4 separate regions of the Homo sapiens genome follow, and all the other regions are linked to region 2. Evidence: promoter capture Hi-C in 16 types of primary human blood cells and fetal thymus (Javierre and others, 2016). All regions are on one chromosome and are shown on one strand. The core of a region is centred on a gene start or on the middle of the fragment in contact, and the rest is flanking DNA. Distances in the headings are between cores, read along the strand shown. Region 1 overlaps NME7 (NME/NM23 family member 7). Region 2 holds the start of DPT (dermatopontin). Region 3 overlaps NME7 (NME/NM23 family member 7). Region 4 overlaps NME7 (NME/NM23 family member 7).

Evidence for each region. Contacts are between HindIII fragments. The CHiCAGO score rates a contact against its expected background, and 5 or more counts as called.
Region 1: a contact is called between a fragment that was not itself captured here and the fragment with the promoter of DPT in region 2, in 3 of 17 cell types (M2 macrophages, activated CD4 T cells and naive CD4 T cells). The highest score is 6.7, in M2 macrophages.
Region 3: a fragment that was not itself captured here is called in contact with the fragment with the promoter of DPT in region 2 in 1 of 17 cell types (M0 macrophages); the score reaches 7.5 in M0 macrophages.
Region 4: a contact is called between a fragment that was not itself captured here and the fragment with the promoter of DPT in region 2, in 1 of 17 cell types (M2 macrophages). The highest score is 6.3, in M2 macrophages.

The regions. Positions count from the first base shown.
Region 1 is chr1:169,318,074-169,323,201 of GRCh38, reverse strand. NME7 (NME/NM23 family member 7) reads left to right here. Exons shown (of 12, transcript NM_013330.5): 3 at 1-85. Among named protein-coding and RNA genes, the nearest start is that of NME7, 47 kb to the left of the region's middle. The HindIII fragment of the contact is 4,815 bases long and covers 1-4,534 here.
Region 2 is chr1:168,726,976-168,732,567 of GRCh38, reverse strand. DPT (dermatopontin) reads left to right here and starts at 3,362. Exons shown (of 4, transcript NM_001937.5): 1 at 3,362-3,698. The coding sequence starts at 3,394. The HindIII fragment of the contact is 3,243 bases long and covers 758-4,000 here.
Region 3 is chr1:169,357,626-169,362,595 of GRCh38, reverse strand. The region is part of intron 1 of NME7 (NME/NM23 family member 7); the gene reads left to right. Among named protein-coding and RNA genes, the nearest start is that of NME7, 7.7 kb to the left of the region's middle. The HindIII fragment of the contact is 1,185 bases long and covers 1,087-2,271 here.
Region 4 is chr1:169,286,141-169,291,803 of GRCh38, reverse strand. NME7 (NME/NM23 family member 7) reads left to right here. Exons shown (of 12, transcript NM_013330.5): 7 at 4,396-4,501. Among named protein-coding and RNA genes, the nearest start is that of NME7, 79 kb to the left of the region's middle. The HindIII fragment of the contact is 593 bases long and covers 1,742-2,334 here.

The sequences.
Region 1 (5,128 bases), core at 878-3,377, 590 kb before region 2:
AAGTGAATGTCTTTTCTCGACAACTGGTATTAATTGACTATGGGGATCAATATACAGCTCGCCAGCTGGGCAGTAGGAAAGAAAAGTAAGAAAACAATTATATAATCTTTTTACATGCTCTAACTTTGGGTTCAAAGTCAATCTGAATCAAGACTGGGAGTATGTAACCATATGAGGATGGATAGGACCTGGAAAATGGTTGTCTTCATTCTTTTTCTTTTTTTCAATTTAAAAAAAAATTGATAATACCATAGTTGTGCATGTCTCATCTGACTTAATTCATGTTTATGTCTCCTGTGGCACTTAGCACATCTCCATCCACATTGCAAGCACCTTGTCTGTATTAGCTGAACGAATTAATGAATCACAATTTAAAATCTATGATCTATTCTTTCCTTTTTCCACTTTCTCCCTGTTTTCAAATGATGATCTTTGATCTAGTTGACCAGGAGGTTTTTGCCTAGATTGTTTGTAACTAATGCTGCCTATTGTCAAGTTTTGTTAACAGATATATATATATATATTTATATCTAATAGATGTTGACCAACGGATCAATTGAAAAATGACAATGTGAGTGTTGTAAAAAGGAAAAAAAAAAGAAACCATATAAAGAAATTATGATACAGGGAGACTGATGTATCTTATTCATAACTGTATCCCTAAAAACTGTTGTAGTGATACCTCAAACAGTAAATTATTCACAGAGTGTGACCCACAAAAGTTTGTTAAATATATGAATGAATAAATTTATGTCATCGAAATGTCTGGAGGTACGGTATGTCTAAAGGAAGAGTTTCCCACTGGCTGGCATCCCCGCCTCCCTATCTTCCTCCCACTGCATGTGGCTCTTTCTGTGAGAGAAACTGTGACATGGTGCCTCCACATGTGTCCCTGTTCTTCTCTCTATTGTTTGTCAAAGCTGCATTCATCATTCTTTTTCTCAGTTTTGATTTAGAAGAGATACAGTCATCTGTAAAAGGGGCTAAGAAAAAAAATGGAAGAGAAAGAACAACTTGTAGATACAGCTGAAAATTAGACTTATAGAAAACAAGAAAACAAGGATTTTTGATGTTTTCCTTCTGAATACTGATTTTCAGTATTAGCAAGATGACATTTTAATTTTCAGTCTCTACATTTATGAATTTCAACTTTCTGAGACTAGAATTAATTATATTTGAAGTGAAATTTTAATTCCTTTGTCATCTTTCTTGGCTTTAATTTCTGTAGCTTATACTTTGTATGGTTTGGGGAGTTTTTTTTTCCTGTAGAGTGATTGGTGCTGTAATTAAAATAGGGATTATTTGTAGAAGTTAAGGCTATATGTATAAAAGGCTCCAAAAATGATTTAATTCAATAGGGAAAACAAATCAATCAAACTATTTTTTGAGATCTACTACTCAAATGACTAGCTGATTGCCTAACGTCTGAGTCACTCTTATAGTAATATGATATCTCTTTCTGTGACTTCCATAGTCTTTCTGTATAAGCACTTTATAGCTCTTGAGGTGATTGGATTCTTAGTGTGGGTGTTAGTACACAAATGGTGATGGATCAGAGGGGTGGTGCATGCCTCATTAAAAAGGAAGACCAAAGACTCTCTTTGAAATAGGACAGAAATTTCAGGTATTAGATAAATAAATAGGAATCTTTTAATGTTATGAGATCTTATGTAAAAGTCTTTGGGATTAAAGAAATGCCAACCATAATTCCTTTATTTAAAACTCATAAATATGTGTAGCATTCATTTATGGAGCACATACTATGTGCCAGACACTATGATATGCACTTTACATACACCTCAGTTCAAGACTACTTTATTTTATTTAATTATTGTTATTTTTGAGGTGGGGTCTGGCTCTGTCACCCAGGCTGAAGTGAAGTGGCATGATCATAGCCCACTGCACCCTTGACTTCCCATGCTCAAGTGATCCTCCCATCTAAGCCTCCCAGGTAGCTGGAACTACAGCCATGCACCACTATTCCTGGCTAATTTTTTGGTATTTTGCTAGAGATGGAGTTTGGCCTTCTTGCCCAGGCTGGAAGACTGCTTTAAATTTTTATTTAAACTAGCAAAATAAGTGAGTTAGGGAGTCAGGGTTAACAGTCTGACCTAAGAAAAATAAAATAACAACCATAAAAATTATAATTTATGTATTTTAACTATGATTTGACTGAAGTGAATGTTGTTAAATCTATTTTATAGAATGGGTAAGTAACTTGTCCACAGTAACACAGCTAGAAAGTAAAGGGAAACCAGAAAACCGTGTTTTGTTTTTCCCTAAAATTCATTCTCTTTCTACTAAACCTCTAATTAATATGCTGGCAAATACTGTTGAATGGGACTGATTTTAAAACAGGATGAACAGAAGAATTCTATTTTAATGTAAAAACAAATTTGAAGTATTTGGGCTTTATATAGTTAATGAAAATGAAAATATATGTAGTATATATTTTACTGACTCAAATTGATTCACCATTTTCTCTTCTTATTCTTTCTTAATTGCATATGGGTTAGTAAATCCAACAACCATTTGGGTGATTTAAATAAACTTCTTCCAAACCGAAGAGTTTCAAAAATTTATTGTTTTATTTAAATGGCAAAAAGTAAGCATATGGAAATATGTGTGTATGTCTATCAGCGTTCCACAGAAACACCTTCTATGTAACAACCGATTTAGTCTAGTTCTCAGTTTTGTATAGTGTTGAGAAAAATTTTTGAACCAATTACATTTTCAACTCTTTTCTTTCTATAGTAAAGCCTGTAGTGAGGAGGATGAGTGAAATTGATCCCCATGGAGCCTATCAGCTAATTGGGGAGCAGTTATCCAGATAATTTAATATAATTCAGCTTAACTCATGAACTAGCTTCAGCTTTCCAATTCCCTTTGACTGTAGAAATCTGACATTTGATTCACATTTTTATCCTCTCTTTATAAAGATCCTCTAATCAAATGGATAAAGGTTACAAGTTGTCAATGAGTCAGTCTTTGATTTTAATTTTAGCTAGTAATTAATTGGTGCTTTATGATTGTTGTTTAGATTTGGAGACACGATACAATTTGTGTCTTTCTAAAAATTTATTACCTCAAACCAGAAATAATTAAAGTTTTCATATGATGAGTCAATATGTATATGTATGCATGTGTATGAATGATAGAGGAATTTTATATGAATAGACAGCTATTCCCCATGTGATAAGTGAGGTATTAAATGTTTACTTTGATAGCTTATATCTTTAGTAAGAAGTTTATAAAAATCAATGAAAAATAATGCTAGTATCCTATTTAAAAATCCATTAATTTTAAGTACTGAGCCACATATTTACATTGAGCAATCCTCATTCCTTTTGAGTCTCAGCCAGAAAGCAAGCCATCTAATCAAATTAAAGGGAGAAAGGCATCAGTAGGTTGGGTGAACAACATTATAGTAGATGTTAAATACATGAAATTCTTGTGCCCATCTATTAACTTTCAGTGAAAGGAAGACCCCCCTGTTTTTCAGAAGAAAAATTATGAAGTCAACTGTGTGTATAATCTTTGATCCCAAGGTCTAAGCCCAAGTTATTTGAGGCTCCATCACAGCAGGAACTCAGTCACAGTATGCATTTTCCTGTCCTCTTGGAGATGTACTGAAATGGTATATGGATAAAAAAACAAGCCGTATTTTAGATGAGACCTGTGCTTGGAAGGGGCTTAAGAATACTTCTCCCTGGAGGTAGGGAGATTGACCTAAATAACCTTTTGAACTAAATCACCTTTTGAATTTTTAAATACAGCCCAAAAATTCCAAGCATTTGCTTAATTGATAATTTTTTAAAAGGTACTGAAATAATACTTTATATGTTTTCTAGACTTATGTAGTTTAACAATTCTTATGGATGAACATACATTTTCTAATATTAGAATTTGACTCATATGAACTATACGTTTTTTCTATGTGAAGATTTGGCAGTATCATCAGATATATGTTTGAAGAAATTTCATTGGAAGGAAATGTCATAAAATCTTGGCTATATCAAGTTTGAAACAACTTCAGTGTTCAGGTATTATATAGTTTAGCAGGATTACAGTATTGGGATATCATAATGTATGAATGACTTAAAAGACATTTTAATTTTAATTAAAATTAAATTTAAAAATTAAATTAAAATTAAAATTAAAATTAAAATTAAATTAAATTTAATTTTAATAAATACAAAAAATGTACCTCTTCTGTTCTTCCATCCCAACTGGAATAAATTAAGTTTAGAATACTTTAAAAATTATTATTCTGTCTTCCCCTGGTTGTTATGGCACTTCACCACCGCTACCCCCACCGCTGCTTCCATCTCTATCTCTCTGGCTATTTTTTCTCAGAGTCATTCCTTCTCAGAGGCAAAAAAGACTCCTGGTATTCCCCAGGGTTCTGTTCATGGCCCTTTTTTTCTCATTCTATATACTCTCCCAGGGGATTCTATGTACTCCATGACTTCAACAATGTGTTGCTTTCCAAATTTATGTCATCACCCCAGCTGTAAAACCATATGTTTAAGCTTTTTCCTGAACGTTTCCATGTAGATTTTTCACAGGAACTTAAAAATCCAAAATTGAATTAATTGACAAATTCAAAATTAAATTAATTCTCTTTCATTGAAAAACCTACTTCTGTATGCACTAACACAATATTCACCTAATTACATACTTACAAAATTGGTGGCTGTCCTTGAGTTCCATATGTATTTTATCCCTAAATCCACATGGGGACCTAATCTTACCAATTTACTTGTCTCCTTCATAGATCTCTCTTATTTCTCTTCTCTTTTTTATCTTTTACATTCCTCCTTAAAACAGCTTCTTGTCATCTCTTGAGCTCAGTTAGTCTCCATTCTTCCCTCCAAATTACTAACTGATGAAGAACTAACACAGGAGATAGATGTAGATCAAAATATTAAGTATTAATTTTACTTAGGCTGTCTTGTGAAAGCGTGTTTGAGAATGGTTGAGGCTTTCTTTCTATTCCTATTTCCTCTATCCCTTACACTGATCTGGAACTTGAGGCCTGCCTGAGGAAAAGTTGGATCTACAGAACAAACTAAGGGCATACTTGCCCAGGGTTCTCATCCTGCCTCCCAGCCCATGGAGCACAGGA
Region 2 (5,592 bases), core at 2,113-4,612:
AATCAGAAGACATGGGGTCATATCCTTCCAGTTCTAGAAATTTGGCCCAAAATGTTCTCTCACCACAGTTTCCCCATCTGTGAGAAACTAATTCCAATAATGCCTCACTAACATATAAAGTTATGAGGAAGATAACATAGTAACCTAGTTGAAAACACATGGTCAACTGTAAATGCATTAATCTTATGTTCTCAATGTCTGCGTATGGAAATCATTCTCTATGCGGCCACCAGAATCTCTCTCAAAGGCATCAGCAGTTTCTGGAATCTCCTGAGACACTGGATGAGTTAGGTTGCTTTCAGCTTTAAGTAACAGAAATCTATATTAAAACTGGACCATAGCATGAAGATATTTATTTTTGCACATTAAAGGGAATCCAGCTGAGGTAGTTCTAGCTGTAGTTGAAAGAAATCTGCGGAGAGTGGAGATCAGGCAGAGGCCCTGGAAATTGTTGGAAAACAAATGTATAATAAAGATGAGTGTTTATGATAATCTGCTTTGTCTCTTAGAGCTCTTTAAGGTTTAAAATAGCTCATATCATGTCCAGAATGCAAGATACAACTCATGAGCATCAGGATGATAAACTGAAAAAATTAAAAAAAAAAAAAAACCCTCTAGCATAGAGGTTCTCAACCCTGGCTTCCGGTGAGAAGCCTATAGGGAAGGTTTCAAAGGACGTCATTGTCAGGACCCTGCTCAGAAGCTTCTGATCTGATTGGTCCAGAAATTGCTTAGACTCTGGAGGTTTCCAAAAGCTTTCCAGGTAATCCTTAAATGCTGATAAGGTGGAGAATGATTGCTTCAGCATATCATGAATCAGAGAGATCCTTCTAAGCTAGGAAGAATTCCGATGCCAGCACTGGGCAGTTACTTACGGATGGAAGTGGTGGGAGAAGATGGTGCTAAAAACAAAACTAAGCCTCACATAGCTGTTCAGCCCAGATCCTCTCCCCCTCGCTTCAGTAACCATGATCATCAAAGAAAACTGCATGCCCAACACACACACAAACACACACACACACACACACACACACGAGTTACTTGTTGCTTTATTCTCATGTATGACTGTCTTTCCCTTTCAAGACTATCTTGGTGTTTGATCTAGACTGAATACCGTCTGGTAAATGTGCCACAGGCTAGGCAGATGGTGGGATTAATAGTGTGATTTTTCTCTGGCTCCACATTCCTTTAGGAAGGTGACTCTTAGCAATTGATGTGAATAAGAATCACCTGGAAAATTTTTTAAAATATAAATACCTGAGCACCCCTTGTGAGGTTATGATTTAGCAGGCCTGGAGAAGAGCCACTGTCTACATTTTAACAAACTTCACAGAGGCTGTAGATAGAATTGGTCTATGATCACAATTCTAAGAAACTTTAAGAACAATACTGATGAGAAATGGGAAATACTATGTGCTTAAGAGATGCCCAAAGGTTTCAAAAAATTTGAAAAGCCAAATCATCAACGGATGCATGGAATGGGTAATGAGCACATGAAAAGATGCTCAAAATCATGGATCATTAGAGAAATGAAAATCACAACCACACTGAAATATCACTACAAACCTATTTGAATAGCTAAAATTTTTTAATGGCAATTTTCTGGTAGTGGTGGGCAATGGTATCACCACTTTGGAAATCAGCTAGGTAGTTTCTTGCTTTCTTTTTTTTGTTTTTTTGAGACGGAGTCTCGCTCTGTAGCCCAGGCTGGAGTGCAGTGGCACAATCTCGGCTCACTGCAAGCTCCGCTTCTCGGGTTCACGCCATTCTCCTGTCTCAGCCTCCCGAGTAGCTGGGACTACAGGCGCCCGCCACTAAGCCTGGCTAATTTTTTGTATTTTTAGTAGAGGCGGGGTTTCACCATGTTAGCCAGGATGGTCTCGATCTCCTGACCTCGTGATCCGCCCGCCTCGGCCTCCTAAAGTGCTGGGATTACAAGCATGAGCCACCACACCCGGCCTCAGTAGTTTCTTTTAAAGTTAAACATACATTACCTTGTGAACCAGCAATCTCACTCCTAGGTATTGACCCAAATGAAATAAAAATTTGTTCACACAAAAACCTATACATAGATGTTTATATCAACTTTATAATTACATTTATGTAATTCATTATATAAAATATAATGAATATAAAATTCATTACATAAAAAGTAATGAATTTTCAAAAACTGGAAACAACCCAAATGTCTTTCAACTAGTAAATGTATAAACAATCTGTGGTACATCCATGCTATGGAATATTACTCAACAATAACAAGAAACAAAATACTAACACATACAATGAGATGTTGAATTTTAAAATGGATGAACCTTAAAAGCATTATGCTAAGTGAAAGATGGACATGAAAGGCTACGTGTGGTATGATTCCATTTACTTGACATTCTGGAAAAGGCAAAACCATAGAGACAGAAAGTAAATCAGTGGTTACCAATGGCTGGGTGTTTGGGAAGATTTGACTGCAAAGGGATATAAGGGGATGTTTTGGATTGATGGAACTGTTCTAAGTCTTGATTAGGGTGCTGGCTATGTTACTGTACATTATGTATTTTAAAAGGTGAATTAATTATATGTAAATTATAACTCAATGAAAAGAAAATTCAATGTGAGGGCAAAAATACTGAAGGATAAATAGGGGGTTTATTTAGATTAAACCCATTACATTTTGAGAGCAGAGCACACTTTCTAGACTTGACTGGGTCCAATTTCAGCAGCATGGTAGAATGCTTAAGTGTAGAAATCATATCCAACTTATCTCCCCATGGGCCCATAGTACTTCCTTATGCAACTTATGAGTTCTCAGAGTAGCCCTGCAAACTGGTATACCCGCGCTTATACTCAAGGGTTAAAAAGTGTTGGATTGACAACTTAAAAAAAAAAACAGGCATTCAGCCTTACAGAAATCCTAGATGGCTCTGTTACTTCAGTCTATGATTTCGGTATTTTGAAATCACTGTCTGGGTATTTGTGTGGCCCGGAAGGCTAGTTTGGAGAACAAATACAGGGGTTTGCTAGTAGCGGGTAGGGTAGGACAGAAAGGGGTGAGGTGCTGAAAGGTGAGGGACAAATATGCTACTAATCAGTGTTTTTCAAGTGAATATTTCTACAGGGTAGAGCAGCAGTTGGCTTTTATAATCTAGATACAAAGTTGTTCTTTCTCCAGGGAGCTTCTTAGACTTACATGCTGCTGGTATATTCCTAGAATTCCACCTTAAAACAAGCTGAATGTCCTTATGGCTGACATCTCAGCATGGAAAAGTTTTGCTTAAGCAATGACACACTGCAGTTGGATCCTTCTCACCCACATCTGGAAGCCACATGTCAGCGGCAGCTATATAAAACGGTCAGACCAGCAATCTTAGAGTGACATTGTTTGCCAAAATCCCAGGCAGCATGGACCTCAGTCTTCTCTGGGTACTTCTGCCCCTAGTCACCATGGCCTGGGGCCAGTATGGCGATTATGGATACCCATACCAGCAGTATCATGACTACAGCGATGATGGGTGGGTGAATTTGAACCGGCAAGGCTTCAGCTACCAGTGTCCCCAGGGGCAGGTGATAGTGGCCGTGAGGAGCATCTTCAGCAAGAAGGAAGGTTCTGACAGACAATGGAACTACGCCTGCATGCCCACGCCACAGAGCCTCGGGGAACCCACGGAGTGCTGGTGGGAGGAGATCAACAGGGCTGGCATGGAATGGTAAGGGCCAGTCCCTGCACTGCACTGGGGCTGGGAACATCTCTGCATATCCCTCCTCCTGGGGGCTGCTAGACTCTCAAGGAATATCAGTAACCAAAGCCTGGGCAAATCCCACCCCAAACCTCACCACTGCATGCTCTGGGTGGAGCAGGGCTGCTGCTGAGCGGACTACATGACAGGACAAAAACCTGGGATGGGGAGTGTCTGTGGGAGACAGACTCCTCTGTGGCTCTGTTCCTTCCAGAAGCTGTTCTACCTACTCTCAGTTTGGGCCAGGGGCTGGTGTAGGTCGGCGAGAAGCTTGCTTACCAGACTACCAAAAGATATGTACAGAAACTGAAAGTAATAAACTTTATAGAAATTAAAACTTTCTGTGCCATCGGAATGGCATTTTTCTTTTTTAGAAATTTATTTTTACCATTTTACAAAAGTACTGGCCCACAGTAGTTTGGGAACAAGAAAAATAAACAATTGATCTCTCAGCACGGAGGGTTTGAGAACTATTGATTTAGAGCAAGTGAATGGAAAAGAGGGGACAAGGACATTTAGGCAAAAGAAAGTGGAATTAAATAGCTGTCTACTGCCTTGATTAAATGTGCTCTCTCAATTATGAGTACTGAGGTCCTTCTCTCTGCCTGAATTTAAAGTGGGTTTTATTGCTGGAAAATAGTTTACTAAAGGGTTTTGGAGAGAGGTGCTGTCTTCCCCTGACTGCATTCTGCCTTAAGCAGTGGCATGGAATTTTTTCGAGCTTGTACTTTTTTGTGGGGTGTGATTGTCTCAGCTGGGTCTCAGCCCAGGTGCTTGGTCAGGAGCTCATCCTAGTAGGCACTGACTGCTAGGCTGATTATTTACAACAGCCTAGATGGAGCCAGCACTCTAGGAGGCTTGGAGGAGAGAACGGAGGAGGCAGTCCAGGGAGGAGGAAGCCCACCTGGAGGGCTGCTGCATGTGCTATCTGTAGAGCAACCCAGATGTGTGGCAACAAGTACTTAGTGTAGTGGGGATTGGAGGGGTCAAGCACAAAATCTGGCCAGGTGTGGTGGCTCACGCCTGTAATCCCAAACACTTTGGGAGGCTGGGGAGGGAGGATCACTTGAGATCAAGAGTTCGAGACCAGCCTAGGGAACACAGCCAGACCCTATCTCTACAGAAAAAAAAAAATTAGCCCGGTGTAGTTGCATGCAGCCTGTGGTCCCAGCTACTCAGGAGGCTAAGGTAGGAGGATCACTTGAGCCCAGGGAGTCGAGGCTGCAGTGAGCCATGCTCGCACCACTGTATTCCCTCCTGGGTGGCAGAGCAAGACTCTGCCTCAAAAAAAAAAAAAAAAGAAAATAGAAAAAAGAAAAAGCATAGAACCCTGGGGGACACAACCAGTAGAGAGGTGATGATGGGAAATCCAAGAGGAAGAAACACCGATGGGTGGGGGAGCCAGGAAAGAGAGCGGGCCTTTAAGTAATGACAACAGCTACCATTTATTGAGTGCTTACCCTGAGCAGGCTCCATGCTAAGTGCTTTATGTGGATCATCTCGTGTAATGCTCAAAACAAGGGTATATCCCATTTATAGGTAGACAAACTGCAGTCTAGAGATCCAGTATTTCCTCGGCTAGAAAGCTGGGGTTTGGATCCACAGAGTCTTTGCTTCAAAGAGTTTGTACTTTGCCACAGTGACGGGCTCCTGAGAGGCTGCTGCCTCCACCCAGAGTGGGCTCCCACCCGACAGCTGACTCTGTCAGCAGAGCCAGTGCCACAGGACCAGATTCAGGGCAGTTCTTCCTCCTGGAGAGGGTGGGGACCTGCAAGACCACAGCAGAAGCCCAGCCCCAGAGGGATGATCCCTACTTGGTTACCAGGACTGTGGAGGGGCTCAGCCGGACTGTAGAAGGGGTGGG
Region 3 (4,970 bases), core at 430-2,929, 630 kb before region 2:
TAATCAGCTTCTGTCTTCATCTAGTTTGTTATAGTTGAGGCTTCCAAATTCTGGAATCACCTTTATATTGTGAAGCAGAGATAGGGAACCATAGTTTAGCATGTTTCTCATACACCTCATTTAAGATGAAGCGTATGCTGGACTCATCAATTTCTTTTACATATTATAAAGAGGACAGAGAAGGTAATTCTAAGATATATTTGACAAAGATATTAATATTATGTATCTTCTAAAATATAGCATTTATTAGAATATCATTACTCCAGATGAACTGTTAGTGTAATAAAGGACTTTAAAGATTATTAGCTATGTTCCATAAGAACTAATCTAAACCTTTGAAGTAAAATGTCTCAAAGTTGTTTGTTTGTTTATGTATTTATTTATTTTTGAGACACAGTCTCACTCTATCACCCTGGCTGGAGTGCAGTGGTGTGATCTCGGGTCACTGCAACCTCTGCCTCCTGGGTTCAAGCGATTCTCCTGCCTCCACCTTGTGAGTAACTTGGATTACAGGCATGTGCCACCATGCCTGGCTAATTTTTGTGTTTTTAGTGGAGACAGGGTTTCACCATGTTGGCCAGGCTGGTCTCGAGCTCCTGACCTCAAGTGATCCACTTGCCTCGGCTTCCCCAAGTGCTGGGATTACAGGCATGAGTCAAAGTTGTTTTTAACAGAGTTTTCAAAGACAGTTTCATAATTACTGAAGAACAAAATTTTATTCCATGAAATGAAATGCTTTTCAGTTTCCAACTTTATGACGTTTCTCCTAATAGCTTTTCTGGTTTTGTTTTTAGCACCTGCCTTTTTTTTTTTTTAGACAGAGTTTTGTTCTGTCGACCCGGCTGTGGAGTGCAGTGGCGCGATTTCCACTCACTGCAACCTCTGCCTCCTGGGTTCAAGCAATTCTTGTGCCCCAGCCTCCCGAGTAGCTGGGACTACTGGCGCATGCCACCACGCCTGGCTAACTTTTGTATTTTTAGTAGAGACGGGGTTTCGCCATTTTGGCCAGGCTAGTCTCAAACTCCTGATCTCAGGTCATCCGCCTGCCTCGGCCTTCCAAACTGCTGGGATTATAGGCATGAAGCTTGGCACCCAGACAGCATCTGCTTTTTAGTCATCCAGAATTCCTTTTGTTACTTGAATTGCTGATTTGGAAGAATTGCAGTTCCAAAGATCCACAGGATTTTATTTACAAAAAGTGAATCAGAAAGCACAGGGCATAAATTGCAGATATGAAACTCTTAAAAGTTTATTTTCCTATATATTGTATTACAAATGCAGTTTAGAGCCTGTTATATTCTTGTTTAGTAGGAAACAGTGGTATTTGGAGAACGGAATAGTAAGTGGTTAATATAATGCCATAATTTTTTTCATGTAGCTTTTTATTTATTTTTGCTTTCCTTTTTCTGCCTTTTTATTCCCAATTCTTTCTCATTCACCAGTTATTCTTCTATTCGAGAAAGTATTTATTGAGTACTTTCCATATACTGGTAACTGGTGGGTATACATTGATTAATAAGATAGCACACAGTGGCCCCTAACTCATGGAATTTATGGAGAAAAACAGATATTGGAAAATAAATTACAAGTATAAGTTGGATTACAAAAGAAAAATGACAAGGTGAGGTGGAAGTTAGTAATAAAATAGAGTGATCTGAACTAGCCTGGGGTGGTGAGGGAAAGTCTCTTTGATGATAAAACTCTTTAATTGTTTTTTTCCTTAGTTTGAGAGAAAAACAGTTTACATGAATAAATAAACGAATGATGACCTCATATGATGATAAGTACTATGAGGAAAATTAAACTAAGTAATGCAATATTGGTTGGTTCCAAGAGCAAGTAGCCTTGAGTAGGACAATCAGGGACGGTCCTCATGAGGATGTGACTTTTAAGCTGAGATGTCAATGATAGAAAGCAGCTTGCCAGGTGAAACCTAGGAGAAGAGCATTCCAGGCAGAGTCAATAGTGAGCACAGAGGTGCATTAGAGGAACAGGAGGGAGATAGTGTGGCTGGGGCCTAGGGAATGAGAGGACAGCTGGAGGAGAAGAGATCTGAGAGGCAGGAAGGAGCCAGGAATACTGAGACTTATGGAACTTGGGAGGGATTTTGGATTTTATTCTAAATGCAGTAGTATTATACATCTTATATATTTTACCTATTCCATCAAAATATTTTATTTTCCTTGGATTTGCCTTAAACTTTTGCCATATTAATTTGGTCTCTTGGTGCTTATTTTTATCTTATCTGTAAAATTTATGATCTTATAAGCTTTGGGAAATATTTTTCTGAGCTTCTTTTGTCTTTGAACTTCAGAGACTCCTAATTTCATCCCTTATAGTTGCCATTTCATAATTTATTTTCCCATTTCTGGACTTATTTTTTGTTTCTATAATATCTACTCTAAGGTGTGGCGAGCAGAGCTACATATTCCAGATGGGTATGCATTATAGTTTCAACATGGGAGTTATGTTTGCTGCTGTGATCTTCACCTAGTACCTTTCTTGATGCTGCTATAGCATATGATTGAAGTATCTTACTTTCCAGAAGTATCTCCAGCATTCCCAATGAACTTTGTATTCACATTTTTTTCAAAAACTGCCTAAACTTCTTCACTTCCAAAGTTGTCAATATTTAAAACTTTCTGTTAATTAGATGTGAGAAACTGTAGCTATTAAAATGTACTGCTTAATTCACATTTATTTTCTGATACTGGACACTTTGCCTTAATAAGTTGCTGTTGTTCTCTCTCCTGACTCATCTTATGTGCTGTGCCTTCTTCATATTTCTATACTCTTTAAAATGTATCTTCATATGCACACATAATGGCTCTAGAGCTCTCTGATAGATGTAAATTCAACTTTTATCCTTTGTTTTCCATAGTTTCAATATTTACATGATACATATATATGCTATATATGTTTTATATATGTTTATAAAGATATTTAACTTATTCTGTTGTAGAAATATAGGAAAATTACTTAGTCATTTTTAGAAATGAGAAAATATAAAAGTAAAAGTAATAAAATTACATTTATCTATAATAACACTGCCTGTATACAATCGCTATTAATATTTTTGTGTAATATCCTGGTCACATATATACTCATACATATATACACACACACACAGAGATACATATCCTTTAAAATATGATTCTATTATATTCATTGTTTAGAAATCTGTTTTATCCCACTTAATATATCTTTTGCATTTTTCCAGATCAGTTTTAAGAACTACAGCCAGCCCTGGGTAGCCATGGGTTCTGCATCCAGATTCAACCAATTGAGGATTGAAAATATTTGAAAAAAAAAAATAACAATACAATGATAAAAAATACAAATAAAAACAAAGCACTATAACAAGTATTTACATAGCATTTGCATTGTATTACGTGTTGTAAGTAATTTAGAGATGAATTAAAATATACTGGAGGATATGCATAGGTTATATGCAAATGCTATATCATTGTATGTAAGGGACTTGAGCGTCTAAGGATTCTGGTATCTGTAGGAGTCCTGGAACCAATCCCCTGCAAATACTGAGGGACAGCTCTACGTTTTATTCTTTCATTTACTCTGATTTAACCAATCCATTTATTAATTTGTTCTGTTAACACAATACTAACATATTTTTGCGAACACATTTTTATAGACATCCATAATTATTTCCTTACAATAAATTAAAAAGGAAATAACTAGGTGCGAGAGGTCATGTGCATTTTTAGGCTTTCAATATACATTGCCAGACTACTCCCAAAATAGTTTTGCCAGTGAATACTCTGCTAGCAGTATACCATGGTGCCTGTTTCTTCTAAACTCTAAACTGGTATTTCTATACATTACATACATATGTCTAACAATAGATTTGAACTTTTAATAAAACTGTCACCTGCTTTGCTCAGAATATTGAGAGAAATATAAATTACTGTATGTTCTATAGATGAAAGGCACTGTTAATACTTACCTACAATATTTCTTTGTAATTATTGTTTTACATCTATTATAAATTGTTAAAATTCAAGGTTTATTGTCTGACTGTAGTGAAGAATATTAAGTTGGCCTTTTTTTAACTATTATTTGTAGACAGATTTTCCAGTCCTCTCTTGTGTACTTATTTTCAAGATGTAGCTTGTTGAAGTACAAACAAACTGATGTAGAGCTAGAAATCTAAAATTTCAGTCTTTATTCCAGTCCTGGCTTAAGCACTTATGAGCTGTGTGTTATGTAATCTTTTTGGATAGTTATTTTCTCATCCATAAAATCAAAATAATACTTTCTGTTTAGATTACCTTAAAGCATTTTTTGTGAAGATCAAATAAGTTAATATGAAAGTAATTTATAAACTGTAATATACATATGAAATGTGTTATTTTCATATTAACCAGATTGCTGCCTAATGAGAAGATAGTTGAGGAAAATGGAAGAGATTAAAATATCAACCTTCAAAAATAAATATTTGAGGTTAATGGTGTTATGCAATTTTGTGGCTATTGAAAAATTTACTTTTATATATTAAATTCCCTCTTCCTAAATTTCTCTTATAGATTCATTTTCCTAATGGAAATAAGAAAAAGCTGGTAAAAGGGAGGGAAATGGCAGAGATTGGTCTTGAGACCAGTTTCAATAATGGTCATATACTTTTGTGGATAGGGGCAGCTAAACATGTGTGATATGTATTTAGCAGGTATTAGGTGTGAGATCCCTGAATATCTACTCAATTTAAATGGATTAGCTGGGAACATTTACTTTTATTGCTGGTCATGTGAGATTTTATTATTCAGTAATTTGACTGTGAAAGTACAATGAGACCGTTCAGACCCAGTCTGTTTCTTGCCACTTAGACTCAGAAATTCGGCTCTGGAAAAACTGAAAATCCCTTCATCTAGTGGCAAGTACAGTTTTATCATTTATGTTAAACCATATTGCCTTTTAGGTACCTTATTGGATTTTACTGCATGCACTGAGATCTC
Region 4 (5,663 bases), core at 789-3,288, 560 kb before region 2:
AAATGCATGCTAACAATCATCTGAGCCTTCAGCGAGTCATAATCTTTTTGCTGATCTTACTTTGATGTTGATGTCTGCTGATTGATCAGGGTTGTTTTTGCCAAAGGTTGAAGTGGCTGTGTCTATTTCTTTTTATTATTATTATTATTATTATTATACTTTAAGTTCTGGGATACATGTGCGTAACGTGCAGGTTTATTATGTAGGTATACACGTGCCATGGTGGTTTGCTGCACCCATCACCCCATCATCTACATTAGGTATTTCTCCCAATGCTATCCTTCCCCTAGCCCCCCACCCCGCAACATGCCACGGTGTGTGATGTTCCCCTCCTTGTGTTCTCATTGTTCAACTCCCACATATGAGTGAGAACATACAGTGTTTGGTTTTCTCTTCCTGTGTTAGTTTGCTGAGAATGATGGTTTCCAGCTTCATCCATGTCCATGCAAAGGACATGAACTCATCCATTTTTATGGTTGCATAGTATTCTATGCTGTATATGTGCCCCATTTTCTTTATCCAGTCTATCACTGATGGGCATTTGGGTTGGTTCCAAGTCTTTGCTATTGTGAATAGTGCTGCAATAAACATACGTGTGCATGTGTCTTTACAACAGAATGGTTTATAATCCTTTGGGTGTATATCCAGAAATGGGATTGCTGGGTCAAATGCTATTTCTGGTTCTAGATCCTTGAGGAATTACCACACTGTCTTCCACAAAGGTTGAACTAATTTACACTCTCACCAACAGTGTAAAAGCGTTTCTATTTCTCCACATCCTCTCCAGCATCTGTTGTTTCCTGATTTTTTAATGATCATCATTCTAACTGGCATGAGATGGTATCTCATTGTGGTTTTGATTTGCATTTCTCTAATGACCAGTGATGAGCTTTTTTTCATATGTTGGCTGCATAAATGTCTTCATTTGAGAAGTGTCTGTTCATATACTTTGCCCACTTTTTGATGGGGCTGTTTGTTTTTTTCTTGTAAATGTGTTTAAGTTCCTTGTAGATTCTGGACAGTAGCCCTTTGTCAGATGAACAGATTGCAAAAATTTTCTCCCATTCTATAGGTTGCCTGTTCACTCTGATGATAATTTCTCTTTTGCTATGCAGAAGCTTTTTAGTTTAATTAGATCGCATTTGTCAATTTTGGCTTTTGTTGCCATTGCTTTTGGTCTTTTAGTCATGAAGTCTTTGCCTATGCCTATATCCTGAATGATATTGCTGAGGTTTTCTTCTAGAGTTTTTATGGTTTTAGGTCTTACATTTATGTCTTTATCCATCTTGAGTTAATTTTTGTATAAGATGAAAGGAAGGGGTCCAGTTTCTGTTTTCTGCATATGGCTAGCCAGTTTTCCCAATACCATTTATTAAATAGGGAATCCTTTCACCATTGCTTGTTTTTGTCAGGTTTGTCAAAGATCAGATGGTTGGAGATGTGTGCCTTTACTTGTGAGGCCTCTGTTCTGTTCCATTGATCTATACTGTTTTAATTTGGGACATTTACAGAAATGATATTCATTTTAAATTACTATTACAAGTACAAAGTTTTGGAGAAACTTTTAACTGGCCACCATTTAGCCATACTTTTATTATCATAATAAAATTATTAGTATAGATTAATTACAAATGCTTTAGTGAAATTACCAGGAAATCCTATCAGCGTGAAAATTTATGAAGTAGTACAACTATATACTTTATAATTTGTTTAAAAATTTAAAAATTATATACCTAAAGCTTTCGAATTCAGTCTGAATTTTTAATTTTTTGTAAAGCTATAAATATTTATTCTTTCCTACTAGGGAATTTAGGAAAATGTAAAAGGCCAAGAGTAATAGCAGGAATCTTTGGAAGAACAGGATCTTTATACAAAATATTTTAGCCCCTCAAATCCCAAAGAAGCCTGGATATTATTTTTGTGACTTTGTTTTATAAAGACTTTGAATTAATTGCCATAACAATGACCTAGTAAAAGCGCTCTTATTCACGTTTCACTAAGAAGATATATTTATGTAAAATCTTTATGCTTTATAAATAAATATTTATTCAGCATAGGTAAATATGGTACTTGAAAATCTGGGTAGTTGGAAAGCTGGCATTTTTATTTTTAAAAATTGAGCGAGAAAAGAAATCAAAGGAAAGTTGAGACAAAAATAATTGGTCAATTAATTGTTAAATAATTTGTTAAACTAGAGACAGAACAATTTATCACTGCTTTTTACTTTGGAAAGACAGATAATAGAAAAAGTACATGGTTTTTGGAGCTACAGTCACTTGGATTTGAATCCTGGCTTTGCCACTTGCTAACTTGTAAGGGCTTGTTACTTAAGCTTTCTGAGTCTCATTTTTCTCATTTGTACACTGTGGATATATTTATTTTGTTTAGCACATGCAGAATTTATTAGGTGCTGAATTTCAGTCATTCCCAAATATTCATTGAGAAACTGCTAGTGAACAAGTAATAAAGATGGACTAAGCCCTGGTGCTCTCCAACACATAGAGGTCAGCTAGATAGGAGAAAACCATCGAAGGAGACTGAGAGGGAGTAGCCAGTGAGGTAGGAAGAAAGGCAAGTAATGAAAGCATTCCAGAGTGTAGGATGTGACAAACTGTGTCAAATACTGTTGGTCAGGTAAGGTGAGGGCTGAGAATAATTAACCAGTGGACTTAGCAACATGGAGGTAGTAAGGGATTTTAATGAGCAGCTTTGGTGGAATGAAAACCTAATTGGTTGTGGATTTAAAAGAGACTGTAGGAGAGGAAGTAAAAATGGAAATGGAAAAGAAAGACATTTCTTTTGAATTTTGTTGTGAAGGGAACAGACCAATGGGAACTCTCGAAAGAGCATGCCCTTTCTAGTTTGCTACTCTATCATATTCTCTTGTCACACCACTTCTACTTCATTCCTTCATTGATCATCTGCCAGGTCCCTGTAGGTATTTGAATTTTCATCTGTACCATAAAGGTTCTCTCGGACCATGCAATCAAAGCATCTGGTATAGGACTAAAAGGGGTAGTTGCTGTTGTTATTGATTAAAAAGAATAATAAATAATGGCAGCAATATGATAGAAAGGCAGTTGGTATCTTAGGAATAGAACACTTTTTATTCTAGTGTCTTACCACTGGAAATGCTCAGGTGTATACACTACTATTTGAATAATTCCTCATCATCCTTGTGTTTAAAAAAATGCTCATCAGTGTGGCACATTAACACATTCTATAATCTTTTCATTTTAAATTTAATGAAAAATAAATACAGTTGATCCATAAACAACACAGGTTTGAACTGCACGAGTCTACTTATATGTGGATTTTTTTCAACAGAAGGATTGAAAATGCAGTATTTGCAAGAGGTGAAACTCACATCTACAGAGATTTGACTTTTCCTATAAGCAGGTTCCACAGGGCTGACTGCAGGACTTGAGCATGCATGGATTTGAGTACACACAGGGATTTGAGTACCAATCCCTTGTGTATACCAAGGGCTATTTGCATTGAGCCAGACATTGTTTTAGGTGCTAGGGGTCCTACAGAGCTATACAACTTAGTTCCCTCTTTTTCAAATTTATGATTTGATGGAAGATAAGTACCCAAATAACCATAACTTTGGGGGAACAAAGGTTGCCGGAAGGAGGCATCAGGAAATGCCTCCTAGTGGAAAGTGGTATTTGAGGTGGCTCTTTACACATTGGTAAGATTCTTTGGAGCTTGAGTCAGAGGGTTTTATAGGAAATAGTAGAAATAATAGCAGTGAAAGCTTAGAGACAGGAAAGCATCTAAATAATTAAAAGAACTGATTAGTGTGAACATCTTTGTGGCTAGTTCAAATTGTTGTGTTGTCATTTTAGTGAACCACATGCAAAGTGAATAACACAGCCTGAATCTGTTTATAAAACATGGTTCATTTGATTTTATTTTATACTAGGCCTATAGTTAGTTTTAAGTAGCTGTAGTTCTCAGATTCCTGATATTAATCTCTGTTCCTATAAAATTTCCTAGTTTTAAATTTTATTTTACATATTTTAATGAAAAATTTAAAATTAAATTTGTGTCTAATTAACTAATGCTTTGGGGAGAATAAGAACTTTATATTGGTATTTCCAATATTCAAAATTTATTAAATCTTTGTCCACTATATTCCTGGAACAAAATGACACATATTCTCATTGCTTTGATTGATACTTCTTTATATGCTCTTCTGGTTCTAAGTCTTGAAACAGGGTTAATTTAATCAGTGTGTCTTTGTAAAACTCATTTTTAGAAAATCTGAAACAAAAAATTTATATGATGAAACTCTAAAAGTAATTGCATGATTCTCCTCCCCCACAGAAATATCTTGTAAGTTCAAGATAAGAGATCACATTTGTCAAAATCATTTCTCTCTGTCTTTAGGAAATGGAGTTGTTTTTTCCTTCAAGTGGAGGTTGTGGGCCGGCAAACACTGCTAAATTTACTAATTGTACCTGTTGCATTGTTAAACCCCATGCTGTCAGTGAAGGTATGTTGAATACACTATATTCAGTACATTTTGTTAATAGGAGAGCAATGTTTATTTTCTTGATGTACTTTATGTATAGAAAATAAAGTATACTTTTAGTATTTCCATTTTTTTTCTTTGAAGGCACTTGAGTAAAGGTGACAAAATATAAGGGAAAATCTGTCTAAATCTCTATTTGTCTTTTCTTTGTGGATTTTTAGGAGGTGTTCTTTGAGTTGCTGATCATGCTCAGGCTCAGTCATACTGTTACAGATCTTGGCTAATTGACTTTTAGTCTGCCTTCTCTCTTTCTAATCACAAATTGTGATTCACTTAATTTACTTCAATAGCACTTTTTTTTTTTTTTTTTGAGACAGAGTCTAGTTCTGTTGTCCAAGCTGGAGTGCAGTGGCATGATCTCGAGTTACTGCAACCTCAGCCTCCCGAGTAGCTGGGACTACAGGCACATGCCACCATGCCCAGCTAATTTTTGTATTTTTAGTAGAGACAGGGTTTCACCATATTGGTCAGGCTGGTCTCAAACTCCTGACCTCAGATGATCTACCCACCTCGGCCTCCCAAAGTGCTGGGATTATAGGCATGAGCCACTGTGCCCAGCCAATAGCACTCCTGTTGTACAAATTAAAACAATGTCTGCCATACCTCTAGTATACCCTTTCTGAGAAGGCTGGAGAAATTTCCTTCAGTTCTTTGTATCTGAAACAGTTCTTTGACATATGTATGTATATACATGTTTGCATATATATACATATATAAAGAGAAAGAGTTTGCAAGTTCTTTTCTTATTTTTGTCTCAATTTCTTTATTTTATTTATTTTAGTCTGGTATATATATTTTTGTTAGGTATCTCAAATCTTTTTGGAAGTAAGATGGGGTATGGTTAAAAAGATCACCCTTAAAAAACTAGAATATACTAAATAATATACAGAAGTGATTGGATTTTAAAATTTTATGTCTCCTAAGTATCCAAGTAATCCATGTATATAGTAGAAAATTGGAAATAAAAAACCATTAAAAATGAAGTAAAAAAATACTGAATTCCCATCACCTGAAGATAGTCATTGTTAATGTTTTGATGCATTTCCTCCAAATCATTTTTTTCTGCATTTGTATGTGCATGTGTGTACACTGCTACACATGAATGTAATGGTTGAGATGTAGG